2 separate regions of the Homo sapiens genome follow, and region 2 is linked to region 1. Evidence: promoter capture Hi-C in human tissues and cell types (Jung and others, 2019). All regions are on one chromosome and are shown on one strand. The core of a region is centred on a gene start or on the middle of the fragment in contact, and the rest is flanking DNA. Distances in the headings are between cores, read along the strand shown. Region 1 holds the start of SLC19A1 (solute carrier family 19 member 1). Region 2 overlaps PCBP3 (poly(rC) binding protein 3).

What was found. The method cuts DNA at HindIII sites, captures the fragments that hold promoters and counts their contacts. A contact is called where the count stands out against the background at its distance.
Region 2: a contact is called between a fragment that was not itself captured here and the fragment with the promoter of SLC19A1 in region 1, in 2 of the 25 tissues and cell types used here (H1 embryonic stem cells and IMR-90 fibroblasts).

The regions. Positions count from the first base shown.
Region 1 is chr21:45,540,857-45,543,877 of GRCh38, forward strand. It overlaps SLC19A1 (solute carrier family 19 member 1), which reads right to left and starts at 1,584. Exons shown (of 6, transcript NM_194255.4): 1 at 1,512-1,584. RefSeq lists silencers at 1,018-1,077, 1,428-1,737, 1,778-1,857 and an enhancer at 1,712-2,224. The HindIII fragment of the contact is 13,138 bases long and covers 1-3,021 here.
Region 2 is chr21:45,668,948-45,671,968 of GRCh38, forward strand. PCBP3 (poly(rC) binding protein 3) reads left to right here. Exons shown (of 18, transcript NM_001384156.1): 2 at 1-5. Among named protein-coding and RNA genes, the nearest start is that of PCBP3, 27 kb to the left of the region's middle. The HindIII fragment of the contact is 6,647 bases long and covers 1-3,021 here.

The DNA.
Region 1 (3,021 bases), core at 334-2,833:
TGACCAGCCCCACCCAGGCCCTGTCCTTCCAAGCACCAGAGAAGGCCAGAGACCCGCAATCAAAACACAAGCAAACGCCACCTATCATTCCGTGTTTAAACCAGCTCCTACTCTGGAAGGCTAACCAAGAATGTTCGTTATGTTTTTTAGAACGCCTGCTAGTTTAAAAAGAAGAAGAAGAAAGCATTGCACACCCTCCCACCCCTGTTCAGATGACCAAGTTCAGGGTTCCTAACAGCATAATTAGACCCTCCGGCTATCACTGCTGCAGGCCCAAACACCCGAGAAGCACTCTTTCTCATCTGTGTCCAGCAGAGATAACTGTACTATCTGGAATTATAAAAATCCACCAAAGCCCCTTCGGAAAGAAAGCAATTAGCAATTGCAACAAGCAGTGCACAGGTGGCACCCAGGCAAAGGCGGCCAGTGAGATGCAGCCTGGCTCCCAGGCCTGGACAGGGCAGGCAGGTGCACTGGGCCAGAGGCACCTCGGCTCTGCTGATTGAATCTGGGCTGTGCGGGGATCCTCGGGTCTCCGTAGGGGGAGGCCACCTCTTTACAGGGCGGCCAACAGGCGCCTCCAAGGACTTTATCCCACCTTCCCTCTGGATGCATTCTGGATTTCGGGGCCAGCTTAGTTGGCCTGTGTCCTGAGGCCAGGCAGGCCAGACTCCCCAGGACAGGAGTTTCCGATGGACAGGACCCTAGGGGGATGGCTTTCCTGCTGTAGCGGTGTTGGAAGGACCCACTCGGGAAAGGCTCCAGCGGCTGTCCAGGCTCTCTCTGAGACGCCTCGGGATTGCTCCGCTGGATCCGCACCCACAGCTGCTCCAAGGGGAAGTTGCACCTACAAAGCTTCTGGCACAGGAGACAATGGTCTGGAGATGTGCCAGGGGCCCGCCCCACGCGTGGCTGGCAGGGTTCACCCACCGGCTGGCCCGTCCCGAAGCAACACGTGCCTGGGCGCGAACGCCGGATCCACGCTTTCCTCCAGACCCGGGGGTGGGACTTGGCGCCCCAGGATGACGCGGAGGGCAGGCTGGGGGCCGGGACTCCCCACCCCATTCGCAGGCTGCGGCGGAAAGCGAGCGGCGGGAAACCCGCTGCACAGCAACGGTTCTGCCAGGCGCCCGGGCCACCGCGACCCCCGCGGAGACCCCGGCCCACGCCCCGCACCCTCCCCAGGGCCCCCCAGACCCCAGGCTGCAGACCGCAGACCCCGGCCACGCCCCGCACCCTCCCCAGGGCCCCCCAGACCCCAGGCTGCAGACCGCAGACCCCGGCCCACGCCCCGCACCCTCCCCAGGGCCCCGCGGACCCCAGGCTGCAGACCGCAGACCCCGGCCCACGCCCCGCACCCTCCCCAGGGCCCCGCGGACCCCAGCGCCAGCCCCCACACTCACCTCACAGGGCCCTGCAAACCTCGGCCCGCGCCCCGCACTCACCCCAGGGCCCCGAGACACCCCGCAGCCCCCGACACGCGGCCCCGTGGCCCCGTTCCCCACCGGTACCTGCGACTCGGCGGGGCGGCTGCCCTGGGGCTCCCGGACCCGGCCCCGCGCACGCGGACTCCGGGACTACAGCGCCCACAAGGCGGCGCGGCGGGCGCGCGGCTGCGGGGTGGGCGGGTCCGTCCCGCCGAACGCGTCCTGAGGGCGGGGCCTCGCGCGTGGCCGGGCGCTGCGGCAGGAGCGTCCCCACGGGGCACCCTCCCACCCACGGCCGTCTCCCAGCCCCGGCGCCGGCCTCTCCCCACCCGGTCACCGCCGGGGTCACGCGGCCCCTCGTGCTGCGGCCCTACCCCTGGGGCCGCCCCCTGACCCCGACCGCCCCTCGGGCCCCCACCCCCGCCGGCGTCAGCATCCTGGGGTGCCACTCGCGGAGGTGTCGGTCCCTCGGGCGGGCACCCTGCCATCCCTCTCCCCCGCGTTCTTCCCACCCCCGGTCCCCTCCTGACCCCCCCTCCTCGACGAGGCCTTGTGCGTTTTCCTTTTGGCACCCTGGAACACCTGCATTCCTGGCCGCAAGCTGGATCCGGGACGCGGGTCGGGCCCACGCGCCCTCAGGGGTGGCCCTGGGCCGCCTTCGTGGGGCTCCAACAGGGACACGCACAGCCTGCTCTTGGGGACCGCACGGCCCCGAACTCGGCGCCCCCGGGACCCCGCCGCCCGCCCTCCTGCCTGACCGTGACCCGTACGGGCTTGTACCAAGGAGCAAGCCGGATCCAGGACGTGGCCCGGGGCCACCAGTCCCCATCCCAGCAGGGACAGCCCGGGGGAGACCCGCGCAGGCCTCGCAGACGGCAGCGCAGTCACACTCAGGAAGGGGGGCCTGGGCCACTCTCCCAGGAAGGCGTGGGGCTGCGGCAGACAGCACCGCCGAAAGCCCAAGGCCTGTGCAGGACACGGGGAGAAGTGGGGGGCCTCAGGGTCACTTTCCCCTGGAGTTACCCAGGGCCTGGCTATGGGGAGGGAAGCCAAGCCGAGGGCTGTGGGGGCCCCAAGGCTAAGGAGGAGCCAGGAAGTCCACTGCACAGAACAGAAGGGGACGGCCACCGTGGTACCCACAGCTCAAGAGTGCGGGTCCCAGGCGAGGGGTGAGTCTGGGGCAGCAGCCCCTGGAATGTACCCCTTCCGGAGTGTAGACAGCACAATCCGCGACCTGCCTCCTGGTGTTGCGGGGGTGCTCTTGGTCTCCCGCCCACCAGCAGGGCAACCCCACCAGGAAGCCAACACAGGGCCCTTGCCCTAAATGGCCGCCTGCCCAAAGCTCTGGCCTGGGCCTTCTTTCCAGAGTCCTGAGTGTAGCAAGCCACACGAACAAATCTCAAAGGAACTTAAAAAGGATTTGTTGGCTGGAAATGGGGGATCTGGGGTAGCTTGCAGAATTTAAGGGAACACTACAGGATGGAGCGCCTCACCTGGAGGGACCCCCTGCTTTGTGGGAGCCCTGGCTCTCTCCCCTGTACTGGCCTTCTCCACGGGTGGGCAGAACCTGGCCCTGCTGGAAGACAGGAGGGGC
Region 2 (3,021 bases), core at 311-2,810, 130 kb after region 1:
TGGAGGTAATCTATTGCCATAAAGGATTTTCCAATTATCCTTAGGTTTCTGTGGTTTCACTAAGTTCCATGCATCCCTGCCTGAGGTATGTTGGCTTCTTGTATCTATGACATGATGTCTTTCATAAGTCTGGAAAATTCACTGCCATTTTCTTCAGCTATTGCTTCTGCATCATCTCTTTTCTTTCTTTCTGGGACTCTGATTAAATTTGTGTTAGATTTCTCACCATATATTCTCATGCTCTCTCTTATATTTCTGGATTTTGGCCACTCCACTTTACTTTGAATATTTTATTTTATTTTGACCTAGTTTCCAGTTCACCAATTCTTTCTTCAGCAGCACTCAATCTGCTTTAAAACCCATTCATGACTTTATAACTTTTCAGTTTTAGATTAAAAAAAATTGAAACTGTTACTTTTTGTAGCTTCTAATTTATTGTTTCTGTTTTTAACTATAGCAACTATAGTTTTAAAATTTTAGTTAAACATATATAACATAAAATTTGCCATTTTAAAGAGTACATTTTATGTGTACAATTCTGTGACATTAAGTACATTCATGTTGTTGTGCAACCATCCATCTCCAATACTCTTTTCATCTTGCAAAACTGAAACTCTTTACACATTAAACAATAACTCCCTCTCCCAAACCCCTGGCAACTACCATTCTACTTTCTGTTTCTATGAATTTGACTACTATAGATACTTCATATAAGTGAAGTCATAAATATTTTTCCTTTTGTGACTGGCTTATTTAATGTAGCGTACTGTCTTCAGGGTTCATCCATGTTGTAGCATGTGTTGGAATTTCTTCCCTTTTTAAGACTGAATAATATTCCATTGTGTGTGTGTGTGTGTGTATATATATATATATATATATATATATATATATATATATATCACATTTTGTTTATTCATTCTTTGATGGACACTTGGGTTGCATCTACCTTTTGGCTATAGTGAATAATGCTGCCATGAACTTGGGTATACAAATATTTGAGTCCCTTGCTTTTACTTAATTTGTGCCTATACCTAGAAATGGAATTACTAGATCATATGCTAATACTTTTCTTAACTTTTTGAGGAATGACTGTATTGTTTTCATAGCAGCTCCGCATTTTACATTTCTACCAGCAATGCACAAGGGTTCCAGCTTCTCCACATCCTAACCAACACTTATTATTATTTTGATAATAGCTATTCTAATGGGTATGAGGTGACATCTCTTTGTAGTTTTGATTTGCTTTTCTCTAATGATTAGTAATGTTGACCATTTTTTCTTGTGCTTATTGCCCAGTAGTATGTGTTATTGAGAGAAATGTCTATTCAGGTCATTTGCCAGATTTTTAATTGGGTTGTTTGGGTTTTTGTTATTATACAAGTGTAGTTGTTAAAATAGACTATGTTGGGTAATTCCAACTTCTTGTCTTTGTAGATATGTTTTTGTTTTCTGTGATTTCTACTCTTTCTTCCTCAATGGGTCACTAATTTCTTTTAGGCTACTAGACATTTGTATTTGCAGAATATTTTGAGGAATAATTTGAAATAATTTGGGATGATTATTGTTTTTAGAGAGGTTTTCATCAGGTACTGCTAAGGTTCTTAAAGGAGCAAGCTTAATCCAGTGTAGTCTTAAGGACAACCGGATGAGTAGAACAAAGGCTCAGTGCTTGGGAGGGCTGACTTGCTTCTGAGGACTTATTCTTTACCTTGAGGGGTTAGCCCTTTGTGGTTCCAGTGCAAATTGAGGGGTGGTTTCTCAGTATCTGATTCATGCTTTTACTCTGTATCTCTTCCCCCCAATTTTTGGATATTTTGGTTAACTTTCAATCCCACAAATTTCAGGGCCTTACATGGTAAAATTTACTTCTTGCTCATGTAACAGTTCACTGTGGATGTACCTCATCAGTGATCAGGTTTCCTCTGTGTGGTGATTCGGCCCAGCTCCTCACAGTGGGTGGTCATGCCATCTGCTACGGAGGTGGCATCCTTATCCTCTAGGCCCAGCTTCCTGTCAGTCCAGCTGGCAGATGAGAGAGCACACATGGAGAAGGCACACATGCTTCTCAGCCATGTTGGCCCAAAAGTGACGAGGACCATGATCTGTATCTCTTCATACTTTCCACTGGCAAGATCCAGTGATGGGGTTCTATCTAGATGCAGGCATGAAATCTGCAGTGTGTTGTTTGTGGTTGACAGTTGCTTCCCAGTTTCAATGCTGTCCTGGGAAAGGGGAGCACAGTTCTTTATGAACAGTTAGTTATCTGCCTCAGTCCTTCGCCTTGGCACACCCTTCTTTCACGACTGTCATGCACTCATCTCTCCAGGGACACAATCCAGAGTTGCCCCAGTTACTGTGTCTTGCACAAAGGATGGATTTCTAGCATTGTGTGGTCTTTATCAAATCCAGTTGTCGCTCTTGTCGTTTGATGACTGAACTGACACACAGGTTGTCTGCTGTTCACACTGTACAATAGTGGAGCCAAACCAAGCCAATTGCAATTTTTAAAACTTCCATTTTGGAAGGGGAGAATGGAAGATAAACATCAGTTCTTGGTCCACAGTTAGAGCAACATCCCATGGGCAAGTATTATGAAGGCATCTATCAATGTTTTCTAAGCAAAGGCCACTAGACACTCACCTGGGAACCATGGGGTGTTGTGGTAAGAGGGCGTTAGAAAGAACCTGTTACAGGATTTGGGCTTTGGTTAGGTGATTTGGGGGAGGGTTCAAGAAAGTGGGATGGTATCAGTAAGTGGGGACAATTTTTTGATGAGTGTCTGTAAATCTTATCTACAAGGAGGTTAGACTGGAGTGAGGTTAAAGCTGTGATTGGTAAAGAAACAGTCATCACTTATGTCAGTGGGGAGAGGGATTTTGACACAATCTTGTTTTTGTCTTCATTCATCATGGTCAGTGTGGCGTGTCTGATTCTTTCACCTTCTATTCTGGGAGTGGGGGCAGGAGAAACTGGTCTGTTGTCCTCCAGGCCTCCTTTCTCTGTCCCTCCATCTGGCTAGGC